Linked DNA regions of Homo sapiens: region 1 is linked to region 2. The links are contacts of gene promoters, found by promoter capture Hi-C in human tissues and cell types (Jung and others, 2019). All regions are on one chromosome and are shown on one strand. Each heading gives the region's core, a stretch centred on a gene start or on the middle of the fragment in contact. The rest is flanking DNA. Distances are from core to core; before and after follow the strand shown. Region 1 overlaps LOC100128317 (a long non-coding RNA gene). Region 2 holds the start of HGF (hepatocyte growth factor).

Region 1 (6,370 bases), core at 1,588-4,087, 150 kb before region 2:
TATTAAGATGGCATGGTCACTTTTCTCCAAATGGCATTAACTTTACTTAATCCTTGTTCTTGCAGATTCAAATCCAAGATAGCAGCTCACCCTGCTTACTCCCTTTACCTTCTTGAGAATCCTCTAAGACAAAATAAATATATAATAAAGGCTCTTATTTTAGTAAAACATAATTTGTACCTATCTATATTTATTGCTATCTGAGTTGTCACATTTCCACATCACAAGTACTTCTTGTCTCTGACATAGTTTTGTGATCAAATCCTCGTCATATCCTGTAGCTCACCTTTCAACTCGTCCTTTTAAATGGCTGACACATTTACATTAATACCATACAGCCTACCGTATATTTCTATTTTCCTTCTCCTTAAAACTTCACCAAAATTTTCCCCACCATCCTATAGCTTTTTATATATGTGGATATTTTCTTGATACCAAATATAGCTATATTTGATTTTTTTGTGAGAAAATCTGCCCTTTCTTTTAAATATTACAGGCACGAGCCCAGTATGACTAGTGTTAGTTATTTTCTGATTTCACATTTTTCCAATGAGTATTTATAGAAACTTGTAGATGTCTGAAACATACTTTCTGTCAATTACTGCTGTGATTATTGGTAAGATGACCATCTACTCTATCCTGGCATAATTACCAAGTGTTCTTTCACTCTCAAAATGACTGTTTTGAAGGGTGAATTATACAGTTTCTCTTATTGGAAATATAAGTTTGCTTAGAAATGTTATATCATATTGATAAAACTATTAAAAACTCAATATAAACTGAAGATGTTTTCAATCATATATATAAGATTTCAAGGCTAACTGTCGACATTGTATTTATACTCTGATTTTAAAAAGAGTTCGATTACATATTAATTTTAGTATAAACATTCTAAGGCAAGCAGCCATCAGACCCATTTGCTAATATGTTAATGAGGAAGTGCATACATGTATATTAGTTGCATTATGACAATTCTCACAGTATATGAGGATGATTATTATGGTGTCTATGCATTTCAAGATGTATTTGAGGAAAATAGCCAAACATATACATATGAATGATATGCTAATAATGTGATCATATGATCAATGTTCATATTTAGCAATATAATGTGTTCTATAAGATATTCTCGTAAATCTATATATTTTGGTTTTCCACTAGTCCCAATAACATCTCTGCTCAAGCAGTATAGAACGTTTAGATTTTTTTTTAACTTCTTCCTATTGTTCTAAACCACCTAGGTTATGTATACTGCACTTTCTGTGTCTTTTTCCTGTGGCAACTCCCACTTATCATTAAATACCATCCCCAGATGGAGTTAATTATTCCTTCCATTATCACTGCACTCCCTTCAAAAGCATTTTAATTGCCTGTTGATGTATTTCTTTCCTATCTCAAATTATGAGCACCTTGAAAGCAGAGATCATTCATTTCTATCATCATATTGTATGTCTTGCATACAATATGGAATTCAGTTAATAATGGAATAATATGTGAATGTATGAATTACATGAATGAATGAGTGAATAAATGAAAGTGTGAGTGACTTACTAAATGTGTAATGGTTATGAAATTTAGAGTACAACCAAACGTGAAGAATGCAGCCTTTTTACTTCCTACTTATAAAAATAATTGAGTGTCAGCCAGGCGCGGTGGCTCACACCTGTAATCCCAGCACTTTAGGAGGCCAAGGCGGGCAGATCACCTGAGGTCGGGAGTTTGAGACCAGCCTGACCAACATGGAGAAACCCTGTCTCTACGAAAAATACAAAATTAGCTGGGCATAGTGGCGCATGCCTGTAATCCCAGCTACTCAGGAGGTTGAGCCAGGAGAATCACTTGAACCCACGGGGCAGAATTTGCACTGAGCCAAGATCATGCCATTGCACTCCAGCCTGGGCAACAAGAGCGAAACTCCATCTCGACAATAATAATAATAATAATAATAATAATAATAATAATAATAGTAATAATAATAATTGGGTGTCAAATGGGACCATATTTTGGTATTACAGATTAGAAATCCATTTTCCTCCCAAGAAAAAAAGTGAGCAAAATGATAATAATTAAAATCAGTTTTCACATAAAAATCCAAATTCCTAGCTTCCCTTGGAAAATCATAAGATTTGGCAATACATAGTATGCATTCCTAAATGACAACCATTGGCTCGAGTTAAACAGTAGCTACTTCTTTGAGTACACAGTCCCCATCCCTATATTCTATACAGGATGTCTCATTTATTATTCGTGTATAAATTTGCCACCCAGGATTCAGTGAGTTCTATTAAAGCACTAACGTGGGATTGTTTTAAGTTAAACATCACCAATTTCAGTAAAAATGAGTGACAGACATTTTAGGGAGGAGAAAAGGAATGGAGAAATATGTAAAACTGAGGCATATTTAATGAAAATAATGTAAAAGGCCTTGTCTGAAACTTAAAGGAAGCAAAATAGTGCAATGTTTAAGAGCCTGAATTTTAGATTTGGAGAACTGATCTAGAATTTTGCTAGATTGGACAAACTGCTTAATTTCATAGAGGTTAAGTTCCCTCATTAGAGAAATAGAAGCAATAATAATTATAATAGTTTAGATCTACCTCTTAGATTTGTTGCAAGGATTAAATATAACCATATATATGTAGGCTTGGTTGAGTGTAAAGGTTTTAGACATGCCTAGACATGCTCAGACATTTATGATAGCCTAAGACAAGTCTTATCCTAAGACAAGTCAAAGACATATATAGAGAAGGGCTACAGGAAGAAGGTGAAGGAGAAGGGGGAAGCTTTCTGAGAGACAAGCATCAATGCCTGGAGCCACATCTAACAGCTTCATCCACATTTTGCAACAGTACTTAGTGTAATCTGGACATCCCAAGGGCCTCTGCTGTCTTCCCTTCAAATGTGCATATTCTGTTTAGACACAGCAGTATCTTGCAGATGATTCATTGGGAGATGGTAGGTTTCATTGGAAGTGGTACAATAAAAAGGAGAGATAGTGATACCCAGAAGCTGCCTAGCAGACAAAAGGTAGTACGGCAATAGCAAGTGTCTTCATGAGTGCCAGTGAGACACTTTCAGAAACATGTCTGAGGGTTACTTTATTAGGCAGCTAATATCCTTTGTGATAAGAAGAGGCAAAGGCCAGTAACATTTGTAAAATAGCTACTATGACATTATCTGACAATTGCATTATATAGGTAACAAAATACCAAGTGTGGTATTTTAATATTTGAAGAATTTTCTATGTATTCAGAATCCTCTGTGTAGCAGAGGTAACTTTGCATTCACCAACACCCATATCCTATTCTTCCTGATTCACGGCTACATCTGAGTCCTTTATGTGTGGTTAGTGAATGTGGAAGTGCTGTACACAATTCCAGGCCTGTCACCTAAAAACCTCCAGAATGAGCCTATTAACTCTCTGTGATGATCAGACACAGAACCATCTTCAGTGATCTTTGAGCCCTACTTACTGGGAGAGCCACACAATTTAAAGAACTTTGGTCCCTAAATGACAATGCTGAAAACTACCCATCAAACAGTAACATCTGCAATAGGCTTGAGTGAAAAAGAAATGTCTGTTGTGTTAAGCCACTGGTATTTGGGGGTTACTTACCATAACAAATAAATGTGGTCACCCAAATATTCTGAAATACCATCTCTTCAGGTCATTTCAGTTATCTGAGTCTATGTAAATAAGAAAAAAATAACAGCCAGAGCTAGCTAAAATCAGAAACCACAAGCAGTCTTTGTTCACAAGTAAGTAGTTATTTGATCTGTCCCACAACCATCATTATTTCCAATTTTGCATTGTCTACCTGAGAACTATCAAAAGCACGTCTGTCCTACTCTGTTCCCCATCTGGAAGAAAGTAGACATGTTCAAACTTCCATAGCCATTTCTGCAGTATTGTTAAAAAATCAGTGCACACTCACAAACCTGTACTTTTCTTCCTAAAATAGGGTGTTGACCTCAAACAAAAACAGGTTTAGGCTACATCTACATGGGTGACCATGTGTGGCATAAAATAGATTTTCCAGCATGCGTTTATTTGGCAATGACTTAAAAGTGCAACCAGATGTTTTCATAGAGAACAGCTCTTTTAGCCACAAATGTTTCCAATTTAAATGCATTTGTTTTGACTCTATTTTGCTGCAGATGGAAAACATCCATTTTCTTTCTTTCCATTGGGGATAGACAGTGAACGTTGGCAAATCTCATAGAGAATGATTACCAATGTAGACAAAACTTCGGTGAGAGCTGAATCTCCAGGAGAAAATTTTTAAAAGACAAGTTTGCATTTTAAACAGGTTGGCTCTTTTAAGACCATTTTCCCCCTCTAATTTGTACCATAAGTCTTAAACATCTGTATGTGTTTGAGCCTAGGGAACTTACCTTACTTTTAAGTGATAAGTCAAACAGATCTATTCAGAATGACAGCATAGCTTCCGGGCGTGCCATTGATAGTTACTGCAAACAGATATTTCAGATTTTCTTATCAAAATGTGAATTATGTAGGTGTGCTTTACTAAATTTTCTTGCAATTAGCAGGTTGAAATATTACAGGAATTGTAAATGTCTTTATAAAAATAACAGAAAAGCTTTTCTTATTTTTTCAAAAACAAACTAATGTGTACGTGACAGAGTATAAAATGATCTTGGCAAGAGTACAGATTTCTGTTTTAAGAAGCTGGGAGTTATATTTTAACTCATGAAAAGTAATGTTTTCTTTAACCAAATTATCCTTAACATTTGTTGTTTTAGTTTAACTCTATGATTTCTGAGAAGCTTTTGAAAACAAGAAGATATTTTAAAATTTTATTTCCTGTTTTAGACATTTAAATGAGTAAAAAAGGTCCAAATACTGTTTTGAGCAGTAAAAGTATTGTTTTTCCCCTGGAAGAGTAAAATCTCTGTCAGCCAGACTATAATACTTTCACAGACTGAGCACTGTGATACACATATGCTATTTTAAATGTATAGACCCTGTAAGAAGGAGCTAGAAATGCTAAAATGAATATTAATTTTTGCAGTAGTAATTAGACTGATGCAAGAACAATTGTCTGTTTTTCTCCTATGTCTTCCCACTTGCAAGTATTTCAGTTAAGATGTCATTCTTTGTGGAAAGTATTTACATATATGTTTTCTTAGTTTTTCCTTCTAGATAATATTAACTTTTGTTAGATATCTTTTGATTACTTTATCTGTCATAGATATTCCAATGAATTTTCAGTAAATTAAAGTTCATCTTTTAAAAAACCACTTCACCCACTCTTCAAACTACCTGAAAGAGTTAAGTATTCACCACCTACTACACATAGTCACTTTGGCCTCATTATACAGGATATTGTTCTTACCAATGATTATCTGTTGAGGGAAATCTGGGTTTCTCCTAGACCCCACTTAAAGAGAGGAACACTGTGAGATCTTGGCCCTGTTGCAAAACCTCTCCAGTCATTCTCCCAGTTTGTTATCACTGGGGAAATAACTTATTTTGCCAGACTGCAGAGCTGGACAGGGTTCTAAGAATGTAAAGTAGTCATAGACTGTTTAAATGATCCATTGGAATTGACTGTTGGCTGGCAGAAGTTATCGAAGTTATCTGGAAAAGAAAAAAGCCATGGTTCTCCAATTTTCCCCTAATAGTACTATGTTGTTTAATTTGTAAATTATAATGATAAATAGCAAATATTTTCACTTTACTATTATCTCAATCTGAAATACTATATATGATGTGAGTTTCTAATGGGAGAATAAAAGAGAAGACTATCTGTATTCTACTTGGGCTACATAATTCATGCTACATTTAATTTTTAAAAATTCTACAGCTCTATATTTTTTTCTAAGTAGTTTAGCTTTTTAAAATTATAAAGCATTTTCAGTAGGAATATTTTATACTATCATAAAACATAATTCTTTCTTTTTAAATTCGTTGATATTATATTATGCTTTTGTATGCATTTTTACATTACATTATGCTTAAAAGCATAGTTTTTGTGTTTTATTTAAATTAAATGTCTCAATATACCCTTGCCTCTTTTAAAATACTATTGAATGTTTTCTAACGTGTAAAGAAAGACACTCTCTCCTGCATACACAGCTTGACATTTAGTTTGTCAACTTAATATATGAGAAAAGTGTAAACAGAATATGGAAATAATCACCATAAAATTTTTATTTTTTTAACTATTATTTGGAAATAAAATCAAATTTCTAAAATTATATTAACAAATTAAATATTTACAATTATTTTTCCAAGTATCAGAAGAATTAATGTTCAAGAATTAGCCCATAGAATTAACTTATTTGGTATGGCTTATAAATCAGTTTTCAGATGAATAACATGAATTTTCCCAAGTAATCACTCTTA
Region 2 (5,863 bases), core at 369-2,868:
AAGTGCGGTGACACAATCTCGGCTCACTGCAACCCCCACCTCCCAGGTTCAAGAGAGTCTCCTGCCTCAGCCTCCCAAGTAGGTGGGACTACAGGTGCCTGCCACCACGCCTGGCTAATTTTTTGTATTTTTAGTAGAGACAGGGTTTCACCTTGTTAGCTAGGATGGTCTCAATCTCCTGACCTCGTGATCTGCCCGCCTCGGCCTCCCAAAGTGCTGGGATTACAGGCGTGAGCCACCGCACCCGACCCTGTGAAGCGATTTTAACATGACACATGTCAAGCATGATAACCTGCTTGATTTGAACTCACTGCTTTTTCACTTCTTCAGAAATCTTACCTAAATGCTTTCAGAGTGACCCTTTCCAAACAGTGTCATTTTCCAAACGGGCCACTTCACAAAATAAAAGAAAACCAGGTGGGTTGAATGATTTTCCTTTGCATTTAGAAAATTCTTGAGTTTTTTAACCCTTGTACCATATCAAAAACTAGATCAAAGGTCTGATAAATGTCATATTTACCATCTCAAAAGATACAGCCAGTTCTCTTTTTTATATTGTAAAAAGGCCATGTCTCCATCTGGGCATTTGTTCCCACTCTTTTATTCCCCTGCGCCTACCCTTGATATTCACTGCCTTCTCCCGTTGGCACCTCAGCCTCTACAATGATACAACAAAATACAGATGTTTCCTCTTGCCCTGATAACAAGAGAAACTTCCCAGAGCAGCAAACGAGATCTCTAAATCTCCAAGCAATATGAACTTTCAAGCAACTCCTCCCCAAACGGCAAATCCAAGGGAGAAAGTGGGAGACAGAGATGGGCAGTTCTGCAGCTTTAATCAAAGTCTCCGTGCACTGCAGTTTCAAAGGGCAGGCATCCGTACCCAGAAAGAATAAGATCTTTAAAAAGAGGCTTTCTCTTTCATTTTTATGATATGCAAATACTCAGAGTTTATTCTGCCTCCTCAAAATGAAAACCTGTACAAAGTCGTAATTTGGCTCCAAATGTTGACTAGGTGATGTGGAGTAGTGCATTATCATGAAAAATTGTTCTCTGGAAAAGGATGACTTCCTGCCGGACTGACCATCACTCTTGCCTCTTCAGACCAGACCCTCTCTTTAGCTTTAAACTTGTCCAAAGCAGCCAAGTTCAGCCAGTATTAGCACTTCCTCCCTATCTCATAATCCACAACTATTAGGCTAAGTGGGACGGGGCTTGGGTTGGAGGTGGAGGGGAGTTGAGGGAAAGTTAATTATCATTTTAAATGCTATTCAAACAACAACAAAAAAGAATGTCAAAAAAAGCATAATGAGAGCTTTTAGAAACCTATACTACATACTGAGTTCAGAAAGGATGCTGGGAATAGGGTAAAAAGAGGGTGTTAAAAGGAATAGGGAAGGTTAGCAGGAGAGTTAAATACTAATACTAATAATGAAGAAGAAGAAGGGAACTAACCTGCATAGGGGATGGCGATGGGGAGCAGGAGGAGATGCAGGAGGACATGCTGCAGCAGCAGGGCTGGCAGGAGTTTGGTCACCCACATGGTGCTGCTGGACGGGCTGGCGGATCCCTCTGGAGGAGATGCCTGGGTGAAAGAATCCTGTTCGGAGTCAGTGCCTAAAAGAGCCAGTCGGCTCTGAGCTGCTTTTTATTGCGATGAGCTAAGTTTGTTGTGTGATTAACTGGAAAGATCTAGGTCTGAACTCCCTCTTACGGTAAGAAACTGTTTAACAACAGCCCTTTACTCTCTTCCAGCCCCCTCCTTTCCTCACTCGCCCCCCCTTCAACAGCACCAAACAGATCCCTGCAACCCCCCCCATTCCCCGCCTCCCCCCAACCCCACGCTTAGGAAAGAAACTTACAAAGAAAAGGTCACCTGGCCTGAGGCCAGCTTCAATTTGGAAGCTGGAGCTCCAGATCCCAGTGGCTCCTATCCGAGTAAGGAAGGGAGGAGCAAGGCTGAGCCCAATGGCTAAATCAAGGCACAGGCAGGGGACCAATTCGCTCAATTTAAACAGGAAAATACATGTGTTTATATATCTATTTGGGAAAAGAGGAAGGGGAAGCAGCATAAGAAGAAAGCGAAGAGCTGTCTTTCAGCCAAATGTGCCCCAGCTCCTAATCTGTCTAGTTTTCCTGCTAGAGCAACTGAGGGATTCAAAACACTGACACAGGTTCTCTAGGGGTTTAGAGACCTGGGAGAGGTGGGAGCGGGGCCAGGGAGGAGAGCCCAGGCACGTCCAGCCCAGGTAGAAAGAGGTTAGTTAAGAAAAGGGTGTGGTATTGTGGGGCCAAAATAAGCAAGCAAAACAAAAGCACGCAGATTGTCAGATGAAAAAATTGCCCCTGCCCCATGGGCTCAGAGCAGGCAGCTTTTTTTTTTTTTTTTTTTTTTTTTTTTTTTCACAAACTGCCAAACTCACGAAATACCACACATTTACCCAAAGTATACAAAATAAACTTGTCTGATCTGACTTTTTAAGAGAAAGTCCAAGAAACAGTCATTGTCCATAGCCTGTCCCTGACAGGTAAATATGCCATGTGGACTTGTACAGGCACACACGTGCACACAACACATTCACACATGTTGGTGTGTATGTACGTATACACTGGTTAGGACTGACTTTCACCGGAAATCCCTCAAGCTGTTTGAATTCGTGAGTACTGAATATGCCTCTCTTTTCCAGCTTCATCTGCCTGTACACGACAGCCAGCTTCCCAAAGTGTAAGTGGAAAGATGAGGAGCTTGTATGGGCATGGGGGGACTCCTAGGTATCAAATCCTTGTGAGATCATTGCCCAGACCCCTCACTTGATTCAGAGAATTTGTCTTTGCACCCAGAGGTGGATGCTCTGGTAACTTTAAGCAAGAGCCTGCTTTATTTCTAATGGATGCTGAGGGATACTTGCCCCTGTATCTCTCTGAGATGGATATTAGTAGAGAACAGTGCCCCTGTCCACAGAGGAAAAGAAAGCAGGCCAAATGTGGGAATGACTAGAGCGGTGGGTAGCTGTACAGAAGTGATTGTGGGGCTGAATTAAACTCATCCACAGAACAGCCTTCCCTCCACATACCACCTTCATTTGTCCTCCAGCTCCCTTACCCCCACTTTCAGGGAAAAACAACCTGCCTGATAAGTCCCTGAGGTTGTGGGATATCTAGAGAAGCTAGGGATTAAGAGAATTCCTTTTGAGGGATCTATTTTATATGACCCGTTTCTATTGCTAATCCTTCTCTTTTATCATTTTCTCCTTACTTAAAAATCATTTGTCAGCCTCTGTCTGGTGTCCCCAGGATCCATTTTACTTTCTTTTTACTGTTCAGTAGACTTTTTGGGAAATCTCAGTTCAATGCATAGCCTGACCGTGACCCTGAATTGCTCCACTGCATCTCTTGTGCTTTATTAGGGTGTAGGGGCTCAGAAAAATGATACCCCAAATGAAGACCTCAGAATCAGCTCTCTCTGACCTTCTCCTGCTCTCCAGTCTCCGGCCCTTCATTCTCCCCCAAGGCGAGGCATAGAAACTAGAATCCCTCTTTCCCAAGGTGGCTCCTAGAAACCAGAACCCTTTTTCCCAAACCAGCCATAAAACCTAAGCATATCACTCTAACACCTCAACTTTCTGTGTGAAATCTGGCCATAAAGACATTATCTGACCTACCTTGTTTGATCGTAGCTCATAAGACCCCATTCCAAAGAAGGTCCTGCCCCATACCCAGAAGGAATGAGTACTGCACAGAGATACCAGGAAGAATCTCACCTTGCCAGGCGTCCCCACTCAGTCTGTTAGCATGAGATCATATTCCTTTTGTCCAGTTGTATTTCTCCACACCTGCCCACACTTTGTTGAACCTAAGCATAAAAATGGACAATTTCTTTTGTAACTTTGGGTCTTTGTTCTAAAGGCTCTCGGGTTGTGTAAAATTATGATCAAATAAATGTGTATGCCTTTTCTTCTATTGATCTGCCTCTTGACAGTAATTTTTTTTTTAGCAAACCTTCAGAGAACAATGGAAAAGTTTTCCCTTGGCCCAACAAGGGATTAAGGCTGTTTTTAAAAGAAGTTAGATTTTTCTGTAAGTAAATTCCTGTAGGTAAGGAAAGAAAAAGAACAGTGTTTCTATTTATTTTTTTCTCTCAGAAAAAAAAACTAGAGTCAGGGTTGTAAATTATTGTTATAAGTTTGGAGCAAAATCCATCTGAGATAAGGGGTTCAGGACATTAGAAAACTGAATAAACTTATTAGGTCACACATTTTCGTGACTTTTTTTACTGTCACATTAAATATGGTAAATACAACTTAAAACCTATATAATTTATATATTCATATTTCTTGACAAAAATTATTTGGTCTTTCTTTACTGAAATTGTTGCTAATATACACTGAGATCTTAATGTATGCTAAGCATCATATTACATACTATTGAAAATTATTTCATCCTTACAGTAAGTTTAAGATTATTAAAATTCTCATTTTATAGTTGAGGAAACATAGTAAGTTATTTTTATTCTTAAATAACTTGCCTAAGATCCCAAAGTAATATTCAAGTGTGAGATTCAGATTAGTCATACCCCATAGGATGGTATAAATTTTTTTAACCCCACGAGGAGAAGAATCACATGTTCCAGAGTATAATCACCAAAATAAGTCTGAGACTGGGTATATAGGAGATCCTCCATAATAATTTATAAAATAATACATAATTTTAAATCTCTCAAAACTATAAAGAAATACTCAAATGAAATTCTAATTATGCTATTAGTTTAGTCATTTTGATAACATATTCTCTTTGTTTTTTCTAAATCATGCAATGTTTTTTTCCCATCATCTACTGATTGCCTTACATAGGCATACATCATTTTATTGCCCTTCACTTTATTGTACTTCACAGATAATGTGTTTTTACAAATTAAGTTTTGTGGTGTCCTCGAATTGAGCAAGTCTGTTGGTGCCGTTTTTCCCACAGCATGTGCTCACTTTGTGTCTCCGTGTCACATTTTGGTAATTCTTGCAATATTTCAAATATTTCCTTATTATTTTACATGATGATCTGTGATCAGTGATCTTTGATGTTACTGCCATAATTGTTTTGGGCACCACAAACCACAACCCAAACTTAATCCATTCATGTGTGTATTCTGACTACTCCACTGACGAGCTGTTCACCCGTCTCTCTCCCTCCCCTCAGGCTTCTCTATTTCCTAAAACACAACATTATTGAAATTAGGCCAATTGATAGCCCTGCAATGACCTCTAAGTACTCAAGTGAAAGGAAGAGTTGCGCGTCTCTTCCTTGAAATCAAAAGCTAGAAATAAATTAAGCTTTTGGGGAAAGGCATGCCCAAAGATGAGTTAGGTCAAAAGCCAGTCCTCTTGCACCAGTTATCCGAGTTGCAAATGCAAAAGAAAAGTTCTTGAAGCAAGTTAGAAGTGCTACTCCAGTGAACACACAAATGATAAGAGAGCAGAGCAGCCTTATTGCTGATATGCAGAAAATTTGAGCAGTCTAGATAGAAGATCAAACCAGCTGCAATATTCCCTTAAGCCTTAAGCCAAAGCCACAGCAAGGCTCTGAACATCAAGCAAGACCCTCCATCAGCAAAAAGATTATCACTCGCTGAAGGCTTATATGATCGTTAGCATTTTTTAACAATAAAGTATTTTTAAGTTAAGGTATGGACATTTTTAAACATAATGCTGTTGCACACTTAATAGTCTGCTGTGTAACTTTTATATGCACTGGGAAACGAAAAAAAAATTCATGTAACTTGCTTTATTGCGATTTTTGCTTGATCACAGTGGTCTGAAACCAAACGAGCAGTATCTCCAAGGTAAGCCAGTACTTCTTAAGTGTTAAACAG

What was found. The method cuts DNA at HindIII sites, captures the fragments that hold promoters and counts their contacts. A contact is called where the count stands out against the background at its distance.
Region 1: a fragment that was not itself captured here is called in contact with the fragment with the promoter of HGF in region 2 in 1 of the 25 tissues and cell types used here (H1 embryonic stem cells).

What each region holds. Positions count from the first base shown.
Region 1 is chr7:81,620,757-81,627,126 of GRCh38, forward strand. It overlaps LOC100128317 (a long non-coding RNA gene), which reads right to left. Exons shown (of 11, transcript NR_126025.1): 2 at 4,396-4,470; 3 at 3,617-3,687. Among named protein-coding and RNA genes, the nearest start is that of HGF, 150 kb to the right of the region's middle. RefSeq lists an enhancer at 2,113-3,312. The HindIII fragment of the contact is 3,713 bases long and covers 982-4,694 here.
Region 2 is chr7:81,768,429-81,774,291 of GRCh38, forward strand. HGF (hepatocyte growth factor) reads right to left here and starts at 1,619. Exons shown (of 18, transcript NM_000601.6): 1 at 1,456-1,619. The coding sequence starts at 1,543. The HindIII fragment of the contact is 8,838 bases long and covers 1-5,863 here.